Regions from separate parts of the Homo sapiens genome. Here region 2 is linked to region 1. Evidence: promoter capture Hi-C in 16 types of primary human blood cells and fetal thymus (Javierre and others, 2016). All regions are on one chromosome and are shown on one strand. The core of a region is centred on a gene start or on the middle of the fragment in contact, and the rest is flanking DNA. Distances in the headings are between cores, read along the strand shown.

Region 1 (5,791 bases), core at 1,898-4,397:
GTTCACACAGTTTAGGAGGCATACCCAGCAAAATGCTGAGACAGATGGAGGTATTATTATTAAAATATAAAGCTGCATTTTTGAAAAAAGATTTTTGTATTTTTCTAAAAATTAACAAATTAACATTGGAATTCCTTTTCAGCTCAGCTTTTTTAGTGTTTTGATTAGAAAATACACACACGCAATTGCTCTTTACCTCCAGCATTTCAAAGAGATGTGCCAACACCTCAGGCTGCTCTTAGAATGATAAATTACACATTTTTTTTTAATTACAAATTAACAATGACCACCACTTCCTCTTAATCCTAACTGGCTTTAATATATAATAACTTCTCAGGAAATCATACATCTAAATAAGGGCTTTTTATCAGATATCCTTATCCTCATAACATACAATATGTATTTATCTGTTTGAAAAGCAAAAAAAAAAAAAAAAATAGTGTGCCAACCCTAGGCTTGTTTCTTCAAATTATATATTCATAATTTCTCAATGTGGTGGAACAAAATATATTCTGTTCTTAAAATAAAAAGAAGGCCGGGTGCAGTGGCTCACACCTGTAATCCCAGCACCTTTGGAAGGCCAAGGTGGGCAGATCACCCGAGGTCGGGAGTTCGAGACCACCCTGACCAACATGGAGAAACTCTGTCTCCAAAAATACAAAATTAGCCGGGTATGATGGCACATGCCTGTAATCCCAGCTACTTGGGAGGCTGAGGCAGGAAGATCGCTTGAACCCGGGAGGCGGAGGTTGCGGTGAGGTGAGATCACGCCATTGCACTCCAGCCTGGGCAACAAGAGCAAAACTCCATCTCAAAAAAAAAAAAAAAAGGTACGAGCTGGGTGTGGTGGCACATGCCTGTAGTCCCAACTACTCAGGAGGTAGAGGCAGAGCTGCTTGAGCTGAGGAGTTCAACACAAGTCTCAGCAACACAGTGAGACCCCTATCCCAGAAAAACAAAAGAAGAAAGAAAAAAGGAGGCAGTCTCGTCTTGTTTAAGGCTGTCACCAAAACATACTAGCATGGCAGGATATCTGGGGACAGAGTGAGGGGTCACAGGAACAATGGTCATGGCATAAGAGGACTGGGCACGTGTAGGCCACCAAAGCCTGACACCTAAACACCCTTCCTGACATCTAGTATTTCAGAAACAAAACAGAACTGGATTTCCTTACACTTACTTTGAGTCACATACAGAAGTGGTGGGCGCACCCGATGATGCTCAGGGTTTCTAAAGGCCTCACTCTGTGCCTGGTGGTATGGTCATTTATTCCTTCACTGAAGGCACTCTGAGCGCCTGCTCTGTGCCGTGCACATGCTAAGAACTAGAGACAGAAAGATGAATCGCACAGTCCCCGTCTCAAGCAGCTCAAAGTCCAGTGAGAGCTCCTAGTCTCCAATGTTTTTAAAAAGAGGAAAGAGAAAAAGATATTTTACAACAAAATCTACACTCAACCAACTGAACAATGAAATAATTCTCTTTACACCCGAGTGATATCAACAGCCCCCTAAGCTTTCATAGCAACTGGTAGATGAAAAGTCGCCACCCTAACTGCTCTCCTCCACTGTGCAAACCTACTCTAAATCCCAAATCACTACCCAGGAGGGTCCTTTCTAAAGCAATGGATTTGCAGCAAAGAATGCTTTTCTGGTGTTGCACCTGACAACCTCACAGGCCCCACAGGCCCCCTTCCACAGCCCACAGGTGCAGGTTTACCTCTATACATACGAATATTTCATAGATGCTTCTCCCCACTAACCTAGAAGCCCCAGCAGAAGTGAGGACCATGTTTCCTTGTGCATGCCACTGTAAACCCAGGGCCCAGTCCAGAATGAGGGCTCAACAGATGTTTATAGAAGGAGTGAAGATTTAGAGAAATCGAAAAAATTTTAGATCTTACAAGGCCCTTGCATCTAAACACTCCTCCAATTATGGCTAAAAAATGAGGAGCTATAGAAAACTGTCCTATTTAAATTTTGTTTCTAAAAACATTCATTTTGGCTTCTTTTAAAAAAGTTACTCAATTACTGAACAGATCACTGGTGTGGCCTGTTGAACACAGTGCTGTAACTTCCTGCACAAGAGACAAGTCTGAAAGTTTTGCTTTCCGCTGTGAAAGCATTGGTGACTGCTTGACAGACTCGCTTGAAGCAAATAATGTGTTTTTGGTTAAAAAAAAAAAGTATAAACGCCTAATAACAAAATAGGCATATTTTTGGCTAGAATTTTTTTTTCCAAGGAAAAACCTCCAGCTCATTTTGCTGCCTAAGCCAAAACAGATGCTCCCACTAAGTTGGTGGTGGAACAGACCCAAAGATTCCAATAATGACATATATAACGTGTGTCAACAAGAAAACAAGTGTAAAATCTGCAAACGAGTCCCCAGCTAAGGCGAAATCTTGACAACGCTACTCTGAGGTGAGCGATCCCCTCCCTCCTCCGGGGTTAGGAGTGGCCCAGGAGAGGCGGCGGTGACACGCGCTCTGCGGCCCGGCCGTGTCCCTCTCGGCGCCCCGGGACCCCGCGTGTGGAGAAGGAGAGGCCCGGCGGAGGGAAGTGGCCGGGGAGGACCCTACCTGCCAGCCTCCGGCGCTCAGGGTACGCCAGCCCCAGGAGCTTCCGGGCCTCCGGGAGTCCGGCCGCTGCGGGGCGCAGCCGCCCCTTGTCCCCGGGAGGCGCCGCCGGCCCGCGCCGCCAGGCCTCGTCCCCTGCCCAGGCAGCGGCTGCGGGACCGCCCGGGAACCGGGCGCGCGGGAGCCGAGGAGCGCCTGGCCCGGCAAAAGCCCCGCACCTGCAGCTGCCGGGGCCGCGAGCCCACAGCCCCAGGAGCCGCGCGAGGCCCAGGACGCCCCGCGAGGCGCCCGGACCCCCGCCCCGGCAGCCGCTCCTCCAGCGGCGCGCGGCTCCAACGCCCCAGAGCAGCGCGGGCCCCGCGCCCCATAGCCGCGCCGGCCTCAGGCCAGTGAACGGCGATAGGGACCCGGGAACGCGGCTGGCCGCGGCCCACACGCAGGCTACCGGCAGGAGCCGACCTGGCTCGGCAGGGCTCGGTGGCTCGAGCAGCCGCAGCGGCCAGGCAGGGGGGCCTCGCATGGCGCTGCGTGCGACCCGTACGCCTCAGCCCGCCGGCCAGGCGCGCGCAAAGCCCGAGGACCCTCCCGGCCCGGCCCCGAGCAAAGGGCGTGGACGCGGTGGCGCCCGCCCCTCCCCGCTGGCTGTCACCCGCCTTATCGTGCCTGCACCCTCGGGCTGCGCCCGCCCCCGCCCCATCCTCGTCCGCGCGGTGCCGCGCCTCTCCGCCCCACTCCGGGGACTGCAGCTACCCGGACCTTGCAAGCCACCCTTCCGAGCGCCCCCAACCCGCTCGGGTGCCCTCCCTGCAGCGCCCCCAACTGCCCGCTGGCGGAGGAGCGCCGGGCGCGCCAGCTGGGACGAGGCCCGGGAAGCCCAGGAGCACGGCTGCGCCTGCGTACTGGGCGCAGGGAACTTTTTCGCGCTTCGCCGTCCCCTCTGGTCTGAACTTGGGAACGACACGAGCTCTTTCTCACGCCGGCAGACCGGGCGGAGCGCGCAGACGCGACCACACGATGGCCGGCACAAAGATGGGGCGGGAGGACAGCGTGCTGGATACGGCGTGGGGCGGGTCCGCGGCCCGGGAGACCCATGCTGGGGCGGCCCTGTCACTCGTCTCGCTGCCAAGCACAGGGCTGAGGTGCGGAGGGACCACTGAGAGGACTTCGCTGCGTGTCAGCTCAGCTCTGGACGGCGTGGAGGAGGTGGTTGGCGAATAGTGAAATGTATATAACTTTGAGAAGGGAAGAGATCGTTTCTTTTTTTTCTTTTTTTTTTTTTTCTTGAGACGATCTCGGCTCACTGCAACCTCTGCCTCCCAGGTTCAAGTGATTCTCCCTTCTCAGCCTCCCAAGTAGCTGGGATTACAGGCATACGCCACCACACCCGGCTGATTTTGTATTTTTAGTAGAGACGGGGTTTTACCATGTTGGTCAGGCTCTTTTCGAACTCCTGACCTCAGGTGATCCGCCCGCGTCAGCCTCCCAAAGTGCTGGGATTGCAGGCGTGAGCCACCGTGCCCGGCCTGAGATCGTTTCTTAACTAGAGCAGAAATTTGAAGACAGGCGTGGTCGAGGCATTCCCGCTGTTCGAAGTGGAAAACACTAATCAGAAGGCAATGCATCTTAATACACGTGCATGGAAAGACAGGAGAGAACATTAAAACTCACTGGGACACTTTATGGAGACTTCATGGGGGCGGGGGGGGATATGTACCTGAGGTCCAGTGAGTCGTGGGTAGATTTTTGTAGACTCCTAGGTATTTTTACTGGACCTGGACAGGGTACTGTCAGTTGCAAATTTTATGGGTTCACAAAATAAAAAAACCTCAATAATCAACATAAACATTTTAGTGCAATATTTTTAAAAATCAAAATTAATTTAAAAAATCCGTAATGAACAAAATATAAAAAATTTTGATTGAGTATCCACTCCTGACCTTTCACAATCCTGCCTCTCTTCTCTCGCTCTAATCCCAGCCCTGGAAACTTTATTTACAAAAACTGACAGCAGCTGCCCTTAGTTTGGCAGCTGGAAAATGGGAAAGAGAAAGTAAGAGGAAGGTGAGATTTGGGTTAAAGTTGTCACTTTCTCTTCAACTGGGAGGGTATCAATCCTTGATGTTTCTTTAGTTGGGCTCAAAAAGGAGGTAGCGGCCGGGCGCGGTGGCTCACACCTGTAATCCCAACATTTTGGGAGGCTGAGGCGGGCGAATCACGAGGTCAGGAGTTCGAGACCAGCCTGACCGACGTGGTGAAACCCCGTCCCTACTAAAAATACAAAAATTAGCCAGGTGTGGTGGAGCGTGCCTGTAATCCCAGCTACGCAGGAGGCTGAGGCAGGAGAATTGCTTGAACCCGGGAGGCGGAGGTTGCAGTGAGCTGAGATGGTGCCACACCGCACTCCAGCCTGGGAGACAGAGCAAGACTCCGTCTCAAAAAAAAAAAAGAAAAGAAAAAAAAAGAGGAGGTAGCGGCCAGGCGGTGGCTCACACCTGTAATCCCAACATTCTAGGAGGCCGAGGCGGGCGGATCACTCCAGGTCTGGAGTTTGAGACCAGCCTGGCCAACATGGTGAAACTCCATCCCTACTGAAAATACAAAAATTAGCTGGGCTTGGTGGTGCATGCCTGTAGTCTCAGCTACTTGGGACGCTGAGGGAGCATAATCGGTTGAATCCAGGAGGTGGAGGTTGCAGTGAGCTGAGATCACGTCACTGCACTCCATGCACTCTAGCCTGGGCGACACACCAAGACTGCATCTTTTCAAAACAAAATAAAAACAAAAAAAACACAAAGAGGAGGTAGCAAGATGCACAATGAAAACGATCCCATTTCTTTTCAGAAGTCACCTCATAAAAACTGACTTAAAAATTTTCAATTAAAATAAATTTTGCATGATTTGATTACTGAGACTTTTTAGCACATCTTTAAATTTTGTCCCTAGTAGAGTGCCTTAAGTATATGGTCCTGGTAGGTAAGGAGTGAGGTGGGGGAAGGATCGATAATAGAAAGTGTGGGGTTAAGTCGGGCCTTAAATGTGCCTGTGAAATGAGCAGTAAGCATGTAATCCTCTAAAGTCCAACCTCTTAAACCCAGAGGACATGGAGTCTCGCCTCCCTACCCCCGCCCCCCCACTTTCCTGCCCCCAGGGTGACGACAATTCAAGCTAGTTTCTCATCAGTGCAGAAGTTCTAGAATTGGTGGTGTAGTGTGAAATCA
Region 2 (5,791 bases), core at 1,315-3,814, 630 kb after region 1:
GGGGATATTTCTTCAATATTCACTGTGAGGATCTGGTAGAGCTCCAGGAGGTAAAACTCACACAAATATAGCTGCCACACCCCCATGACTGGGTCCCCCTGGAGTTTTTAATCTCTTAGGCTTGTCCACAGTGAGCCTCCAGGAATTTTCCACTACAGTTTAGGTTTTCCTACCCCCGTAGTGGATCTTCAGGGGTTTCTACTTACAGGCTTCTGCTCCAGTGAATTGTGATTCCTTGTATTCACCTGTCCAATTTGGGGGGCTGTGGCTTGTGACATTTCTCCAACAGATCCAAGGCAGATCTCTAAGAAGTGCTGATTTTTCATTTTATTCAGCTTTTTACTGTTAGGACGGAATAACGACTTTCAAGCTCCTTACATGCCTATTGGGAACTGGACGTCCGTTTATGAAGTGTTTGCTTTGCTGGCAAGAGTGTTTGCTGGTGAGAGTGTTTGCTGGTGAGAGTGTTTGCACGTTGTGTTCTTGACTGTGGTTGGACAAGCGTCACCCCAGGGAGTCCAAGCCCCTCCTTTGTGCCCTCCCCATGCGTTGTCCCACCTACACCAGATGCAGGTATGTCACTGTCTCCTCCAGGAACTCTGACTGGACGCATGCATGCAGTCAATTTGTGTGTTAAGTCGGCCTCCCTGTCATCTTTCCAGCTCCTGGATGAGTCATGAAGCCCTGAGCCACAGTTCTTTCATATGTAAAGTAAACATTACCCACACAATGGGGAGCATCTGAATAGAATAGTTAATATTCCTTTATTATAATAATAGGAAGCTAGGATACACACTTCTGTTGTGTGGATTAATGAGAGACTTCCTATGGATTATCTTCTATTAAAAACATACAAGTGTTCTGATGGTTTTCAGGCAAATAGAGAGAGGGAGGGAAAAGCCATCTTCAGGTCATAGGCTGGATTTGACCATTGAGAGTCATACCTTACTTAAAATCATTTGAGTGCTCACATTGACTCTGCCTTTCATATCCTTAACTATTGCATACAGTTGGTTTTCTTATCTTCAAAGAGATCAGAATGTACTGATTTGCCTCTCTTTTGAGTTATTAGTAGTAATTTTTGATAAATGCACAATGTCTTTTTATTTTGCCAAAGGGCTTTCTTTCCTTTTTATGTTGAAACCATTTTTCTTACTAAACCAACATACACATAATTTTTTTGTTGTTAGAAATTATTTTCTTGTGATTGAAAAATACATTTTCCCTAAGCATGAGGAACACAGCTAAAGTTTTATGGTTTGCAAGAAACCGCTGGCCATGGCACTTCCCAGTGTGTCAGTGGTGTGTTCAGGAAGCTCAGTGGCTTCCTGTGTTCTGTGTGTTGGGCATGTAGCAGTTGTAGACAGATGGGCGGGAAGACATGACACCAAGCTGGATGCTTTTATGGCCACAGAACCCACTGACAGATGAAGGAGCCAGATCTAACAGGGCAGAGCAGTGATGTTCCAGGCCAACAGTCTCCAATTTTCTGATCGCACACTCTATGAACAGACGTATATTTAGACCACCTCCCACACACATATGTATTAAAATGCTTACTTAGGAATTACATGCATATTGCCGTACAGATTTATTGATACATTCTAAATGAAATGGGATAGTTCCCTTGACCCCTTCACAGGACTCAGCCCACAGCTCTCAGCCCCTCATGGGAGGAGCAGCATGCAGGTGAGTGGGTGCAGGGGCTGGGGTGAGTGCTTTTGGGCATCGGCAGGAGTAGAACTCTGTGCAGCCCCCCGGCAGCATCTGGGTGGGGCTACCTGTGACCCCTGGAGCCCTAGAGGGCATATGTTACAGTGTGCTCTTAGATTTGCTGTCCACAGATGACTTAAGTGTTAGCTCAGTGCAAGGTCAGTGTGACAGCCTTTTGCATCCACCCTCTTGGTACCTGAATTCTCGTCCGGTGTCCAGGAAGAATCAAGTTGTGCAAACAAATTGAAGGATGGTGAATGTGGAGGACTTTATTGAGCACTGGAAGTGGCTCTCAGTGGGATGGGAAGCTAGAAAGGGGGTTAAGTGGGAAGATGGTCTTCCCCTGGAGTCCTGCTGTCCCCAGCCAAACTCTTCTCCAAAGTCCTGCTGTCAAGCTGTCCCTCTGAAATCAAGCTGATTCTCTCCAACATCCGGCTGTTTCTTCTCTCCTTCTCTATTGCTTTGCTGGTAGGGCCTGGGGTTTTTATGGGTACAAGATGGAGGGTGGGGCGGGCCGGGGTGGTTTTGGAAAAGGCAACATTCGGGCAGGAAAACAGAAATGCATGTTCTCACTTTGGGCCCTACGGTTCCAGGCTTGAGGGTGTGGCGTTTGCTAGGGACCACTCTCTCCTACCCAGTATTTCCCTGCCTCCTGTTTGTATCATAAAGTGTATTTAAAATAAGCTATTATAAAGGATGAGGAAAATACTTGACAATGTCTGTCATTTTCTTTCTTTGCCCCAGAAGATTGTCTTATGTGGCCCCACTTTGGAGACTACCACTCTTGGGGCTGCCGTGGTCACAAAAACCCAGATTATTGTTTTAACTCTATTTCTTGCCTTGGTTCATCGTACTTTGGGGAAGAATCTGGAATTTGTATAAAGTATACCACCCAAGTGGCAGTCCCAGCTGGAAGTCATGGAATGGGGGCAAGAACAATAACCTGGGAGCACGGGATCTGGGTTCGGAACAAGGATGATGGCCGGGAGCTCTAGGCTCAGCTGTGCCACCAGTCCTGTGGCCTTAGACAAGTTAAGGAGTATTTGGGTTTTGTTTTCCTTGTCTGTAAAATTTAGATACATTCTTGCTCTAAAACTCTTTGATTCTGTTAACTGTGTCTTACCATTTCCCTTTAATCTCTATTCTCAGATTGGAATCACCAATTTTATTTTCTTTTACATGCTGTAAAAATATATCTCTGTAGTTCCCCCCACCCTCATACCACATTTCAGGTCTACTGTGGATGAGTTTTTGCCCATAAACTCTGTGACCCTTGCTTCTATTTCAGCATCATGCTTTCTACTTGGAACCACTGAATTTTTTTTTTCAGTGTTGGTTTTTAAAATATTGTCTTCAAATAGAGTATGTATATTAGTCAATATTTTGTATTTTGGAAATCTATCTGATAGAGAAGAATGTCATTTTTTCCCCTTGGTGTGGAAAAACTTCTGGATTGAAAAATAAGTTTCTCCCTGTAATTGTCTCTGAATCTGACCAGCCAGCCAGCTGGCAGAAGGACTGGCAAAGGAGCGGGGGCCGGAAGAGGAGCAGGGGCCAGTAGAGGAGTGGGGCCGGAAGAGGAGCAGGGGCAGCTGTAGGGGCTAGAAGGCCGAGGTCTGCCTCTGAGGACAGCTGTTGATGAGGTTCTTGTTGGAGATCTCTCACCCTTTGGTCAACGTGGCCTTTTGGAGCAGATTTTCTCTTTGCCTTTATGAGACCTTAGTGTCATTCTTGTATTCCTTAGTAACCTTGTGTAAAGGGCTGAGGCTTAGGAGAGACGAGGGTAGGGAGAGAGTTCAGAAAGGAGAGTCCTAAGGCCGTCTGGATTCTCCTTGAGCCCCCTCCCCATCCTGGTCCTGGGCTGTGTCTTCATCACAGCCACCCCTCCCCGATGTGCTGTTGGTTCAGTTACCCCAGACAGTGGATTTCTCAGAACAGAAATTGCTAATGTTCACGTAAAGATGAATGAAATGGGAATGATGAAATGTGTTAAGAGAACTTAAATCCAGGGTGTGAATTGCCACTGATCCTAACAGAGACGTTTTAGCTTTTCTACTTCCCACCTGCCGGAAGAAAGATGAGATAAACCACTTGTGTTATTTGTTCAGCATTGCTGCAGCATCAGAGAGGAGTGTTCCCCGACCCTTTGTTTTTCTAGGTGACTTAATGGGTTCTGGCATTGTGCATTTATCTTTTTAATTGTGGTAAAAGATGCGTAACACTAAAGTTGCCATTTTAAGCGTTGTTAAGCATACAGGTCCGTGGCATTAAGCGCATTCACAGTGTTGTGCAGTCATCACCACCATCAATTAGAGCTGTTTTCATCTTGCAAAATGGAAACTGTACCCATGTAGTACCAATGTCCCATTCCTCCCTCTCCCAGGCCCTGGTATTCCTGTTTCTATGAATTTGGTTCCTCTGGGTCCCTCATATGAGTGCAGCCTTACAGTACTTGTCCTTTATTTCTGGCTTGTTCACTTAGCATAACTCCTCCAGGTTCACCCATGTTGTGGGTCAGAATTCCCTTCCTGTGTCTCTGTGAACCATGTGCCCTGTGATACATGTCGTGTGAGGTGGAACCGTGTGACACTTGTGGGGAGCGAAGTCTACGTAGTTCTTCATGAGCCAGGCCTGAGGCCAGTGATCTGCACAGTGTTGTCATAAGGAAAATAAGTGGCTGTCAGTGTCTTTAGGGAAGCATCTTTTAAAAAGCAAGCAATGTGTGTATTGTACGTTTTAGAAATTCAGATAAGCAAAAATAAGAAAATTATATTCATACATAATTCTACCATCCAGAAACAACCACCATTCCTCTCCCACTGCGTGTTCCTCCATACTTGCCCTGGGCGTATACCCAGGTGGGTGTGCTGCCCCCATAGCTGAGACGAAGGGGTCTCCTCTGCATGGGATGCGCCAAGACCCACGCACTTGAAGCCTCAGGCCTTGCACAGTTTCTTAGAGTTGGCTCCTGGGACCAAATGCTCCTGAAGCATCTGGCCTCTCTGACAACAGGTCCTGAGTTTTATCCCACATTCAAAGTTCAATCTTTTCGTGAATTTCTATGAAAATTCAGGTCATCCACAAGGTGACTAGCATTTCAGTAGATTTGGGGGATTTGCTGAGACGTCTCTCCACACACGCCCATCTCTCTTTCAGAGCCCCCTCTGGGCTCTGACTCCCTGATCGGGGGCCACCCTCCTCTCTCTTCTCTCCTGAAACGGGGCCTTTTTCTATGGGCAGTTCCCTACCATCTGCTTACAGCTAGATTTTTACAAATACAGCACTGTGGTGTACCATCTCTGCTTGGGCGATATATCGGGAACTCCTTTTCACATCCATAAACATCTCCTATAGCATTTTAATGGCAGCAACATCTCGACCGCCATCGGCTCATTGAACTTATTTTTTGTTGTGGGACATAAAGAGGGGTTCCAGCCAGTATCCTGAGAGGTAAATCTTTGTTTAAGTCCATGATTATTTTCTTGAAATGAATTCCTAAAAGTGAAATTGCAGGGTCAATGGCAATGCATGCATTTTTTAATATTAGTTGCCATTTTATCTTCCACAGGGGGCCTATTTTCTTACTCTAGCCAACATTAAAAAATCTTCATTGTCCTTCTCCTGTTCCAACAAGCAAGAAAGTGGAGACCAAGGGCTGAGATCAGTAGCCAGAAATGTAATGGAGCTGTTTAAAAATAGTTATCTTAAGCTTTATTAGTCGAAATACAGTGTCTAGAAGCAGTCACGTGACATCCAGTGTTCTCTGGGCTCCCACCCCATAGCTGAAGTGTTTAGTTCTCTTCAGAGCACAGAGTGTTCAGGGATGCTGATAAACTAGAGTTAGTCCGGCTGACAGTGACTCAGATTTTGAGGAAGCGGAAGCAGTGTCCGATGAGGAACATGTGCAGTAACTGTGGATGTTTTTACAGAAGGGCTTCCAAGGGGAAGTGGGATCATGATGTCTGAATATTTGAAAGGCTACCATATAAAAGAGGCTGAAGACTTTTTTTCTCTTTTTATTTGAGACTTCTGTTTCTTTTATTTGAGCAGAAATTAGAGGGAAGCATTTTTTTGTTTC

What was found. Contacts are between HindIII fragments. The CHiCAGO score rates a contact against its expected background, and 5 or more counts as called.
Region 2: a contact is called between a fragment that was not itself captured here and the fragment with the promoter of ABCB10 in region 1, in 4 of 17 cell types (neutrophils, megakaryocytes, naive B cells and 1 more). The highest score is 7.0, in neutrophils.

What each region holds. Positions count from the first base shown.
Region 1 is chr1:229,555,560-229,561,350 of GRCh38, forward strand. It overlaps ABCB10 (ATP binding cassette subfamily B member 10), which reads right to left and starts at 3,148. Exons shown (of 13, transcript NM_012089.3): 1 at 2,577-3,148. The coding sequence starts at 3,093. RefSeq lists silencers at 2,358-2,807, 2,868-3,567 and an enhancer at 3,738-3,927. The HindIII fragment of the contact is 4,467 bases long and covers 1,511-5,791 here.
Region 2 is chr1:230,185,731-230,191,521 of GRCh38, forward strand. The region is part of intron 2 of GALNT2 (polypeptide N-acetylgalactosaminyltransferase 2); the gene reads left to right. Among named protein-coding and RNA genes, the nearest start is that of GALNT2, 120 kb to the left of the region's middle. RefSeq lists enhancers at 1-714, 715-1,453. The HindIII fragment of the contact is 5,711 bases long and covers 1-5,420 here.